Regions from separate parts of the Homo sapiens genome. Here regions 2 and 3 are each linked to region 1. The links are contacts of gene promoters, found by promoter capture Hi-C in blood cells and fetal thymus (Javierre and others, 2016). All regions are on one chromosome and are shown on one strand. Each heading gives the region's core, a stretch centred on a gene start or on the middle of the fragment in contact. The rest is flanking DNA. Distances are from core to core; before and after follow the strand shown. Region 1 holds the start of RFX7 (regulatory factor X7). Region 2 holds the start of DNAAF4-CCPG1 (DNAAF4-CCPG1 readthrough (NMD candidate)). Region 3 overlaps TCF12 (transcription factor 12).

The links. Contacts are between HindIII fragments. The CHiCAGO score rates a contact against its expected background, and 5 or more counts as called.
Region 2: a contact is called between a fragment that was not itself captured here and the fragment with the promoter of RFX7 in region 1, in 1 of 17 cell types (naive CD8 T cells). The highest score is 5.4, in naive CD8 T cells.
Region 3: a fragment that was not itself captured here is called in contact with the fragment with the promoter of RFX7 in region 1 in 1 of 17 cell types (fetal thymus); the score reaches 7.7 in fetal thymus.

Annotation. Positions count from the first base shown.
Region 1 is chr15:56,241,600-56,245,799 of GRCh38, forward strand. RFX7 (regulatory factor X7) reads right to left here and starts at 2,280. Exons shown (of 10, transcript NM_022841.7): 1 at 1,846-2,280; 2 at 1,526-1,688. The coding sequence starts at 1,686. LOC124903569 (laforin-like) reads right to left here and starts at 3,219. Exons shown (of 3, transcript XM_047433428.1): 1 at 3,135-3,219; 2 at 2,384-2,580; 3 at 1,752-2,283. The coding sequence starts at 3,219. The coding sequence ends at 1,834. It also overlaps a transcript of TEX9 not described here. RefSeq lists silencers at 1,806-1,875, 1,966-2,025, 2,176-2,465, 2,956-3,005 and enhancers at 2,252-2,897, 2,898-3,543, 3,256-3,305, 3,544-4,189. The HindIII fragment of the contact is 5,292 bases long and covers 1-3,984 here.
Region 2 is chr15:55,496,784-55,500,983 of GRCh38, forward strand. DNAAF4 (dynein axonemal assembly factor 4) reads right to left here. Exons shown (of 10, transcript NM_130810.4): 2 at 1,424-1,801; 3 at 929-1,076. The coding sequence starts at 1,546. DNAAF4-CCPG1 (DNAAF4-CCPG1 readthrough (NMD candidate)) reads right to left here and starts at 1,801. Exons shown (of 16, transcript NR_037923.1): 1 at 1,424-1,801; 2 at 929-1,076. The HindIII fragment of the contact is 1,637 bases long and covers 1,374-3,010 here.
Region 3 is chr15:56,922,070-56,926,269 of GRCh38, forward strand. The region is part of intron 3 of TCF12 (transcription factor 12); the gene reads left to right. Among named protein-coding and RNA genes, the nearest start is that of TCF12, 5.5 kb to the left of the region's middle. The HindIII fragment of the contact is 526 bases long and covers 1,802-2,327 here.

The sequences.
Region 1 (4,200 bases), core at 1,030-3,529:
CATACACACTGGTTTTGTGAAAACCTTGATGGCAAGCAAGATATTCACCATCTCTTCTTTTAAATTATAGCTTTAAAAAGGGGGTGAGGGTATCCATTGAAGAATAAAGCCTGCTTTCTGTCACACACACACACACACACCCCAATCATATCTATCAGACCTATTCAAGTTGCCACAACATGACTATTGTCAAAGCCAAAAAAATTCTCCTTTAAAATATTTAAACTTCATTTTAAAATTAAAACTGAAAGCAAGATACTCAACTGCCAACTACTGTTGATGAAACTATTAAAGCCTGCACTGACCTACTTCATATCAGCATCATGACGGCATGGATGCATGCCAAGAAAATAATGAAAATTACTATATAACTAACCTAAATCTTGTATTTAAAAATTGTCACTTTAAAAATGTGCAAATACTGTTCATGCAACGCCAGTTGCTTTACGATATGTTTTCAAAATGAGAAAATGAGTTTTGATATTTTAGTACTCATATTCAATGATGGCCCTGCAAAGATTTCATTTCCATTTTCAAAATCAAGGCTTTTTAAAATACCATATAAAATTCTTTTTAAACTTCTATTAAAAGCAATCTTAGACCAAATTCCAAATATTACTTTCCATTTAAAAAATATTGCTACACTTAAAAAAGGCAGTTAATGAAGCATCCTACAAAACAATGCAAGTTCATGTTCAAAGAATATTGCAATGGCTCTAACAGTGGATGGACTTAGTGTATTTAATTATTAAAAGATTCCCACTAGACTTTAGGAGTTTAATGCTGAAATATTGGAAATTTTCATACAAGAAAGTAAAATAGCGAAAGATATTCCATCAATGGTTTCTTTTAAAAAGACATACAAATGGCAAGACATTTGATTCCCTATATTTTAATTTAAAAAAAAACCACTTTGTTGTAAACTACCATCTTAAAATATTTTATACTAAAAAAGCACTTTCTTCACAATCAATGCAAAGAATAAACTCCCTGAAAAAGAAATTTAATATTAGGATAAGGGAGGCAAAAACATTCAGAAATAGCAGCTAACCCAACTGAAAGGAAGAGACACATTAGGTTTTGTGCTGCATATTAATATTCTTACGCACAGTATCTGTTTGGTGAAAATTCACAATACACTTCTTCCTCCTTCTATGGCTGCAAAAAGGAGTAAACACATTTCACATTCTCCAGTTCCAAATTCATGCCACCATCATGCAATATGACTTAATTTCGACCCATATTTCTGTTACAATGAGTGAAAAAATAAAACCAAAAAACTTGTTTATCTGCACTCACAATTGAGGAAGGGGTAAAAGCATTTTTTAGCTAAGAAGACAGGGGCTGATTGATGCAAAGTCCGCACACCTCCAGAGATCCTACAAATGTGCACCCGACTGGGGAAAGCCACATTCAATGAATGCATCAGCCTCCTCCTCCGCTCCCCCCGCCCGCCGCCCCCCACCCACTTTGCAGCAGAAATGTGCCTGGGCTTTTTCACGCGAGCGATGGAGGATCCTCTTACCAGATGGAGTTCTTGATCTTGTGTTGCAGCGCGCTGGCCTCTGTCCCTGGCAGCCCGGGCACAAGGGCTGGCAGGGCCACCCCCGAGTTGGGGGCGCTGGGGGGAAGCTGCTGATGGGCATCAGGCTGCTGTGGTGGCGGCTGTTGTTGTTCCTCTGCCATCGCTGCAGAGGGGTGGGAGGGAGGGAGGGAAAGATGGGGGCGCGGGGAAGGGTGAGGGAAGAGACCGGGAGGGGAGGACGAAGGGGGGAGAGGAGGAGGGGGAGGGGGAGGGGAAGAGGAGGAGGAGGAGGAAGGAAGCTGGATAAGCTAGGCCTTTACCCCAGGGCTCGAGTGAGTCGCTTTCGCCTGCCGCCTGGGGAACATCACCGGGGAGACCAGCGGCTCCTCACGGCCGGGGCGCTTCACCGCGGGAGAGGCATGGCGGCGCCCCTCAGCCCCCCGCTGGCGCCGCCGCCTCCTCCCGTCAGCGGCCGGGGCTGTGGGGGGGTGAGATGGGGGCGTTTGAAGACGAAGTGGGGGGGGCAGGCTCCCCCCAAAATCCAAGAAGAACGGTTGCTCAGGGATTTGGCGGCCAAGCCTTCCTTCCTTGTCCCCGGGGCTTTCTACTGCCGGGTCCCCGTGCTGCTGCAGCCCCAGGCACCGCTCCACGCCACTCCCCACGCCGCCGCCGCCGCCGCCGCTCGCTCCCGGCCCCGCCGCCGCCGCGGCCGCCGCTGCCCTGCCAGCCCCGGAGGCAGCCCAGTGCGCGCAGCCGCACTGCGGCCCGGCGCAGACCGCACAACACCTACCGCTCCGCCGGGGGGCGTGGACCAGGGTGTGCGGGCCGCGGGCGCGACGGGCCGGGATGGGGGCGCACGGCGCGGAGGGCGGCGCGGGCCAGCGGGCCAGGGAAGCGCGCCGCTGGGGGCCGGGAGGAGTCCGGCCCGGCTGGTGGAGAGCAGGAAAACGTGGGGGAGGTGCTGGCGAGAGAAAGAGAACTTGCGTGAGGAGGAGGAGGAGAAACCAAATTTAATAATATTTGGCGTGGAAATGGGATTTGGGCGGGGGAGGCATCTTCAAAGCAAGTAAAGAGAAATCAACATTATCCCCCTTCCCCTGCACATGCATGTGAGGATTACTTCCTCCCTGAGTAAATGAAGAGAACTGAAGCAGGTAAGACGATAAACTGACTTTTCAGAAGCCCCCAAAGAAGAACACCCGTTGGAATTAACCACCCTTTAGGTAATTCGGTCTTGAACGGAAATCGCGAGTCAGGAGCTGGGTTGAGTGCTCCTCGGTCGGGCATTCAAAGCCCTCCAAATCTGGCCCCACTTTAACTATCCAATCATAGCGGCCTCCATCCCCCTGCAAGAACTCCCGGCTCCAATCAGGGAAGTCTCCATGCCATCCTCAACGCGCAGCAGATTCATTCTTCCTTCGTGCCTTTGCTCATGCTGTTCCCCTCCACCTCCCCACCCCACCCCACCCCCTTTCCAGGAATGCCCTCCCTCCTTTATACCGCTCCCAATTCCACCCAGGCTCTAAAGCATAGCTCAAGTCGCGGCTTGTCAGGGTCCCTGCAGCCAAGGCCACTGCCTGCCTCTGAAAGAAACGCATGTAGTACTCACAACATGGAGGCTCAGGCGTCAGCCACGAGCTCCTTCCTTTGGAGCCCGTTGAACACCCGCCCTCCCCCCGCAGACTCCGCACCATTCCCCCCCTTCCCATTCATACCTAAATGATAGCTTTGCCACAAATAAGTCAGTCTCCTTTAAGAGCAGAAGAATTGGCTTTTCTAGGTGGGGCTGATCAGGGAGGCTGCGTGGATGTAGAATACAACAGCCAAGGCCTCTGGCACCAAATGGAACAGCTGTTCAGCTCACACTGACCTTTCTTTGGGCCCGTGGGTGTTATGAGCCCTTCAGCTTTAACTTTTCTGATAGAGTGTCTATCAGGTTTCTACCTGTTAGATCCTCTGGCCACTTTCCTGCTGTGTGTGGACTTTGGGCTGTGGGGCTCTGCCACCTTTTAGACTCCTAGTGGATGGTGAATCTGATTGGCTTGGGTTGCCTGGCCTTTGAGTTCTCAGTTCCCTGCCTTGGCCTGAAACCCTCTTGCTTTTGTCCACTGTGCCCTCTCTCCTGGCCCACAGACTTAAGGCCCAGACTCACACTGAATGCTTGCACGTGGTGAGGGTTGAGGGTGGGGGTGCAGGGAGGAAGAACACCTGTGTGCAAAATAAGCCGCCCCCCCGCCCCCGGGGCCTCTTGGATTACGCTGTGCTCCAACTACCCATTGCACGAGTTGCATCACACAAATGAGCCCCCTTTTCCATACTCTAAGGTCTCTATTAGCTTAGCCACTTTAGGAAACTATAGGTGGTTTACGACATTCATTTTGCATACATATCTTCATGTGGGTGTGTAAAGACAGTATTTTTGTGGACCTAATTGATAGACATGGTGTGCACTAGACAGAAGCTTTGAAGGATAAAAATAGCTAATGTTTGTTGAACACTTTGTGTGCCAGACTAGCACTTTCCATACATTATCATAGTTATTCCTCCCCAAGAGTGTATAATGTAGGTATTATTAGTCTCCCTCTGTTACAGATGAAATGGAAGCTTAGGTTAATTAACATTCTTAAAATTACCCAATTAGTAAATGCAGGAGCCAAAATTTGAGTCCTGGAAGT
Region 2 (4,200 bases), core at 942-3,441, 740 kb before region 1:
ATGCCACCCCAAAATATGCTGCTTTCATATAGCGATCATTTTGAGTTAAAGGCACTTGAAAGCAGCAAATGCAGGGAGAGGTTTTGCCAGAACTCCTCTTATCTGCCTAAAAACAGATTTTCCAAAGGAACCCAAGTGTCATAAATCTCTTCCCCTGGAGTTTCATTAACCAGGGAATATTGACTATTCTCCCAGAAAAGGAAACTACAAGTCAACACCACACTCTGACAAATTTTGTTAAAAGCTATCACATTTCCTATCTATTCTTCTAAGGATCCATTCATCTTTCCTAAAAATCATTTCCTGTTCTAAGCGGCCTACATCCCCTCCCCCTTCCCCTATTAAGACAGTCCCTAAACTCTCAAATCTCACCGCTTGGGGGGTATTCACTTTTTTCCCTGTGATGCCCTCAAGCACTAATATTAAAAATTCATAAATTTCTATACATTTTCTTCTGTCAATCCTTCTGTTGTTAGTTTATTTTATAGACCCAGCTATTGAACCTTGGAGAGTAAAAGGAAAGTCTATCTGGCCGGGTGTGGTGGCTCGCACCCGTAATCCCAGCACTTTGGGAGGTCAAGGCGGGTGGATCACTTAATGACCGGTCAGGAGTGTGAGACCAGCCTGGCCAACATGGCAAAACGCTCTACCAAAAATACAAAAAAATTTAGCCGGGCGTGGTGGCGGACACCTATAATCCCAGCTACTTGAGAGGCTGAGGTAGGAGAATCCCTTGAACCCCGGGGGCAGAGGTTGCAGTAAGCCGAGATCATGTCACTGCACTCCAGCCTGGGCGACAGAGCAAGACTCTTAAAAAAAAAAAATCTATCTTCCCCTACACAATATAGGTGCTTCAAAATAAAATTTTTTAAAAGGTCTGAAACCGAAAAGGTACAACCAGATGAACATCTTTTAATAAAGAACTTACCACCCGTCACAGAAAGGGTCTCCCACATGGCCGCTTCTTTTTTATACAAGGTGAAGACAATGGTGTCATTCCCAATCTTTGCTTTGCTGCTCTCATCGTCTATGGGAGCATAAAGAAATGCCTCAAATAAAAATGGAGGAAAGTTGACCTATGCAGAAGGGTGAAAACAGAAACTAAGTTAGTTACACAAATTAAGCACGCGTATTAAGAAACACGTGAAAAAGGTAAAATAACTTTCTAAAAGGCCCACTAAATTTATGCCAGGTAGTGAAAGATTAGCAAGGCATATGAGGAAGCCCTGGATAAAAGTAGTCTCTGATCTGATTATCTGTCTACAGATGGTGTGTTACCTGTATGGGATTCATTTTTTTAATAGGATTAAAAATTTAGGACGTTTATCGGCAAAGATGAGCCTGTTGCTCGTGCCCAGCTGCGCTCTTGCAGAAGCTTCGGACCACACCCCCGGAGACCGGCAGGCAAGACTTGCATTCTTACCTTCAGATAGTTTTCCGTGCAGAACACGTCCGTGTCTCTGACGCACACGCCTTTGAGGGGCAGAGACAGAAAGACCGCAGTCTTCGTCTGCTGCCAGCTGTAATCGCTAACCTGAAGAGGCATTCCGGTAGCAACGGGAGCGGATAGCGCGGCTGGTTGCTTCTTGCGCCTGCTTGGTTGCTAGGGAAGCTGGGGTTACCATGCGCCAGCCCTTCCGGGTCAGGCCGGCCGGGAGCCCGGCGTTCCCAGCGTGCTCCGGCGCCAGCACCTCGCGGACTCCATGCGTGACTATCCAGGCGCCCAGACCAGAGAGTGATGCCGATTCTTGGGGTTACCTTACGATCTGAGCGAATGTTCAAAGAAGTAGACCCATACCCTCTGCTTGAGAAAAAAAAAAAAAAAAAAAAGCACTCTGTGGGTCGGGCGCGCTAGCTCACGCCTGTAATCCCAGAACTTTGGGAGGCCGAGGCGGGCGGATCACCTGAGGTTGGGAGTTCGAGACCAGCCTGACCAACATGGAGAAACCCCGCCTCTACTAAAAATACAAAATTAGCCGGGCGTGGTGGTGCATGCCTGTAATCTCAGCTACTCTGGAGGCTGAGGCTGAGGCAGCAGAATCGCTTGAACCCGGGAGGCAGGGGTCGCAGTGAGCCGAAATCGCGCCATTGCACTCCAGCCTGGGAAACAAGAGCGAAACTCCGTCTCAAAAAAAAAAAAAGAAAAGAAAAAGAAAGAAAGAAAAAAAAAAGCACTTCCAGCCTCATAATGCGATAATGCTAAGGAGGGCTGTGGGCATAAGGCTCGGGAAAGCAGCCCATGAGGAGCAGGTGCAATGCCCATACGCCCTTGGTGCAGTGTCTTGTCTGTTTATTCTGACTGAGGCTATTAAGAGTTAGCGCTAGTTGTTCTGTTTTGCAAATTTCTTGGTCATACAGACTGTGAACAAATGTGAACCTGAAAGAGCCAATCCGTCAACATCCAGAGCGGCTAACTGGGTCTAAATTTAAAATAGAGACACGTGGTCATTTACCTACTAGAGGTCACACATGGACTCTGCGTTCTCCCCAAACCCACACCTCTGTTGAGTGTTGGGTCTTATAGGGCTCACCTGCCTCAACCAATCAGGGCTCAGCTGTATCAACCAATCAGAACTAAGTGCGGTTCAATCGTTCATTTGTATAAACGAACCTGACTGGGAACCTGGGCAGAAACTTTTGCTGTAAAACCCAAACCCTCCCTTTGTTCTCTGGAATGCACCTTTGTTTTACACCTAAGGCTTCAACTCCCCAGTTTGCAAACTGTTCCCTGAAATAGTTGCTTTGCTCCAAATTCCTCTTCAGAAAACGTTTGTTCACAACACATACCAGGAGCTTGTCTAAAACTATTGTATCCTGCAAATCCTATTAACTGTAAGGCCGCCAAAAGCACCTATATAGGTTTTGCTCCAAAGTTTGAAAACTGAAGAGAAACCACCCTATGATTCATCTGACAAATGCTTTGCTACAAATCTGGAATAGGGTAAATTGGAATTACACTGACACATTCCGTAAGTGCTTAAGTAGAATCTGAACTTAAGTGCTGCAGAGAAGCTTGAAGATTATGTAGTCTTATTCTACATATTTAAGGAATCTGAAACCTATACACAAACCATTTTCGTATAGATTAGTAGCAGACCATCATTAAAATCCTGATCTCTTAACTCCCATTACAATGTTTTTGCTCCAGGCTGCTTTCTGCACACCCAGTTTATAAATTGCTGGGATAAAACAGTGAATGTATACAATATTTAGATACACACAAATTACTTCCCACTTGGGGCTTTTGATTTTCAACTTTTTTTTAACTTTAAAAAAAAAACAGAGAAACTGGGCCTTTGTGGAAATCTGAAAGTATAATACAAAACCCTGGATTTTAAACTTATTTACTTTTGGAAGCCTTTCTTTCACACAAATTTCAATGCTCCTTAGAAATTCATTGAGGAAAGATAAGGAGCAACAGACTTGAAGAGAAAACCATCTTTTCCCCAAAATAGGGCACACTCACTACCTTAGCAGTTCATCATCTCAAGCTTCTGGTAACTTTGAATACTGGGAGTCATCCTAGACTTGCTTTCCCTTGTCCCTTTAAGCTGAGAAACCCACGAATCCCATGGACTTTTTTAAAAAAATTTCTTTTGTCATTTTCCCCCTTTTGTTCTATTCCTACTTTTACCATATTGTTTCCAAATCTTACATTATCTTCTAAAGACAGGGTTTATGCATTTCTTTCATATAAAATGTTAAAGTCCAGGTTCTCCCACTATACAGAAATATGTGAGATTTTATATGCATGAAAGATAATAATGTAAAGGATACTTTGTGCTGTCGGGGATTTCAGGAAAATCTGTTAGCAATCACTTTGCTAAACACATACACACCTCTGCAGTGAAATTATTCTCCTGACTACCATGATCCTACTAAACTTTTAGACTCTGAATGAATTATACCTTAAAAACTTGTCAAGTTGGCCGGGCGTGGTGGCTCATGCCTGTAATCCCACCACTTTGGAAGGCCGAGGTGGGCGGATCACCTGAGGTTGGGAGTTCAAGACCAGCCTGACGAACATAGAGAAAGCTCGTTTCTACTAAAAATACAAAATTAGCCAGGCATGGTGGCACATGTCTGTAATCCCAGCTACTCGGGAGGCTGAGGCAGGAGAATTGCTTGAACCCAGGAGGCAGAGGTTGCCATGAGCTGAGAGCGTGCCATTGCACTCCAGCCTGAGCAACAAGAGTGAAA
Region 3 (4,200 bases), core at 815-3,314, 680 kb after region 1:
CCCAACTCTTCTCTCACCTCCTTCCTTTTACTGGTAATCATTTGAAAATTGTTACTTTTTGGGGAGGGGGGAGAAAATTTAATAATCTTAAAGTTGTAGAAGATGGCTGTATTTCTTTACTGGTGTTGATACATCTCATTTTTGCAACTAATAATTCATTCTCAGGAACCTTCAGATTTACTTTGACTAATACATAGTAGATGATGCTTAGTATTTTTTAAAAATGAGTCTTGATATTACTGTTGCCTACTGTTCCAGCTTAAGTTATGGTAAATATATATAACTGGACAGTCACTGATACAATAACATGAACTCCAGGAACTTGCTGTTAGAAGTGCATTCTATTTTTAGAATAAAGGCAATTACATTTATTTCACTTTTTAAACTTAAGAAGGATTTATGTAGTCTGTGAAATTAAAAAGTATGTGAACTGGGATATAGATTATAAGCATGGCATTGGAGCAATTTTTGGACTTCAGTACGTTGCATTGCACAAAGAAAAAATTATTTTTCTACATTGCGAATGGTCACCATATTTGATTATTTGGAGTAGGAACTTTTAGTTTTAAAAGTTAGATTTGTTATCCATTGAAAGGTTTGAACTTACACACCTGTAGTCAGTGGACTTAGCAATATTTATCTGTGTGTTTTGTTTTAAATGCTACAAAAAATTGTAATAAAAAAGCTGTGACTTTTAATTAGTGAATGGATTTGAATTTGGGGAAGAGAAAATGCCATGTGATTTTTTTTCAAATCAAGATGTACTGGTAGATATAATTTTTCTGTGGCCAGTTCTTAAAGGGAATGTCTAAAAGAAATTGGTATAGTAACATTATTTTACTTATATATTTTATATTTATATACCTTATTGACATTTGAATAACCTTCTGCCCTGATTTCAAAGGATATTATGTAATACACTCTAATGCCTATGTATTTGCAGCTATTAAGGAGCTAAAGATCTGACTTTCCTTTTGAAGAGCTGCTGTAGTAAAGATTAGGGTTTTTTGTTTGTTTTCTGTTTTGTCTTTGGAGTAACATTTATAAAAACTACATGCCATTTGACTTATGAAAACTAGAGTTTATAGTCAGGTATTGTAATTTCCTTTCTTATTTGTCCTTTTTGAGGAAGACTCAATTTCACAGTGGGCTGTTTTTGAGAAACGATATATAATACTTTCAGAAGCTTTTTTAGCTGAAAGAATATATACTATAGCATGTGATGTTATCTTTAATCTTATTCCTGAAGCAAAACAAATAACTCATCATGGCTGAGTTATTTATGAGTGTCGGAAGTCACTCTGGAAAAGATAAAGGTGTGTTTACTACTACTAATTTGTCTTGAGGATCTGTTATGTTATTCCTTCATCAGGGTGTTAAAATTTTCTTCACGTTATGGTGAGAGTGAATTTGTTCACTTGGTATGATAGGCTCTGTGAAGTGTTCCTAAAGTGACCTTGAGAGAAACTTTTCTTTCTGTAGGAGTGAAAGGTCAGGCACTCTAATTAGGGCAGTGTATAGAAACAAAGGGCAGTGTATAGAAGGAAAGTTGGTTAAAAGGATTGACAAAATGGAAATGGTTCAGATGTTTAAATCCATGTCCTCAACTTCGGGGTTTGAGTGTGTATGTCTAGATTGTGATTTTGGGTTAGTTTTTAGTAGATTGTTTGTATGATATCTGAAAATTTCCTTTGTTTTTGAATCCAAGTAGTAAGGGATGTTGTCATTTTGTAAGCCATCTGTAGATATTGAGCATCTCTCTGGTGTTTCTATCTAGAATGTCATTTTAACTATTAAGTAAAGCTTCACTTTTTCTTATTGAATTCAGACGTTTGTAACAGTATAGTTTCTTTTTGCCCAAAATTTTCAGAGATAATTGTAGGAAGTATTTTCTGGCTCTTAATTTTTAAAAAGGAATACAGTTTTTCATTTTTCAGTTACTGATCTTTTTTTGTGGGGCGGGGGGTTATTTTTAGATGTACTTACAGGCTTTTTGAAAATATTGACATAGGGCCAGAAAAATGAATTCTCATTAAATTACTCTTCAGTATTTCTATTTTTAGATAGTTGTAGATTCATATGCAGTTGTAAGAAACTATACAGAGATTCTATATACCCTTTACCCAGTTTCCTGCAATAATAGCACCTTGAAAAATTAGTACAGTATCACAACTAGGTTATTGATAGTGATACAGTCAAGATGCAAAAACTGTTCTGTCACCACAGGAATTCTTGGTGTTGGCCTTTTGTAACTGCATCCACTTTTCAAGTAATTAAAAAAATGGTAAGATTACTAAATGCCTTCTTTCTCTGTTAAACGTGGAGTAAGCTTTTCAAATTGCTGTAGCATTACTTGAACATATCAAGAACAAAATCAAGAGAAAACCAAAATTGTACCACTGTAGGTTTTTACTGAACTGTGATAGAAATAGGAATGGTGATTTTAGAGAGGAAACCAGGTTTGACCTTTCACTTAAGGTATTTTAAGGTTATGAGTAGGGTGTGGTTCATATTATGTACATATTAGTGTTGAAATTTATAATAGCTATAATTTGTAGTAAATACATACTTGTTAATATTGAGCCATGTTAGACATTTGTTTCAGGTAAGCTGTAGTTATTAATGAGAGTAACCACAGAGTCAGCAGGTGTGTGGGGAAAAATATATTTTAGGACAAATATGGTCTGCTATTAAGTTGCTCATTTAAGGTAAAAGGTAGCAAGGGAGTCTTTTAGAGAAAACCTGTTTATGAAAACTCATACTTGGAAAACATAAAAATTAGAGACAAGATTACAACCATGAGTATTGTATACTTTTCAGGACAATTCCTGAACAATTGAAAAACAAGGTCGGGTGTGGTGGCTCATGCCTGTAATCCCAGCACTTTGGGAGGCCGAGGTGGGTGGATCACATGAGGTCAGGAGTTTGAGACCAGCCTGGCCAACATGGTGAAACCCTATTTCTACTAATAATACAAAAACTTGCTGGGTGTGATGGTGGGCACCTGTAATCCCAGCTACTCAGGAGGCTGGGGTGGGAGAATTGCTTGAACCTGGGAGGCAGAGGTTGCAGTGACCTGAGATGGCGCAGCCAGTGTACTCCAGTCTTGGCAACAGAATGAGACTCTGTCTCCAAAAACAAAAAAAAACCACAAACAAATGGTGTCCACCGCCCCCCCACCCCCCCGCCCCAACCCCGTAGTCATTGCTTATAATGGATTTGAAAAACAATTTGATTAGATCACAACATTTTAGGGGCTTGTTTATTATATATAGTGAGGCATACCTACAATTACTGTTTTTGTTTTCATTAGCCATTTAAACACAAATTCAAGTTTCTGTCTTCAAGGTATCCTTTGCTATATCTTTGAGTTTTTAAACAAGCCTTTTGAAATGAGAAGATAAAGATGAAGATATCCAACCTTGACTATAAACAACTTTCAAATTTTATACTTAATTGGGCAATAAACAATGCTGTCTTATTAAAGCCATATAGTCTTTTCTGCTCTTAAACAATTGGTAGTCTTTTCCTGGAATGTCATTGTCTGCCTAGTGTTGTCAAAGACTTGGGTAATCTTGCTGAAAGAAAGTAAAAGTAGCACTATTAGAAAGGCTCTCCTGAAAAAGAAAAAGAAGTGCTATTTGTGGACAATGTGTGGAATGCCTTTTTAAAAGATCATTTAATAAGACTGCTTTTGGGTATCACTTGAAAGTATGTTTATGGATGGGAATGTTGAAATTGCAAATCTAAATTGTTTGTGTTTAGGGAAGATAATGAGAAGACAAACACTTAAATATATTCAAAAGACTAATGAATGACAGTCTGCTTTGTTAAATAGTTGTGCCATAAGTATCTCATTTTTATCAGTTAACTATTTAGTATTTACCTATGCATTCTTCTAGCAGTTTTTGGGAAGATGGGAAATGGAGAAGGTCATTGCTCAGAAAAAGTGGAGACATTTCGTTGGCGTGGTGGCTCACGCCTGTAATCACAGCGTTTTGGGAGGCTGAGGCAGGCAGATCACTTGAGGCCAGGAGTTGGAGACCAGCCTGGCCAACGTAGCAAAACCCTGTCTCTACCAAAAATACACAGAATTAGCCAGGTGTTGTGGCTCATGCCTGTAGTCCCAGCTACTGGGGAGGCTGAGGCAGGAGAATTGCTTGAACCCAGGAGGCAGAGGTTACAGTGAGCCGAGATTGT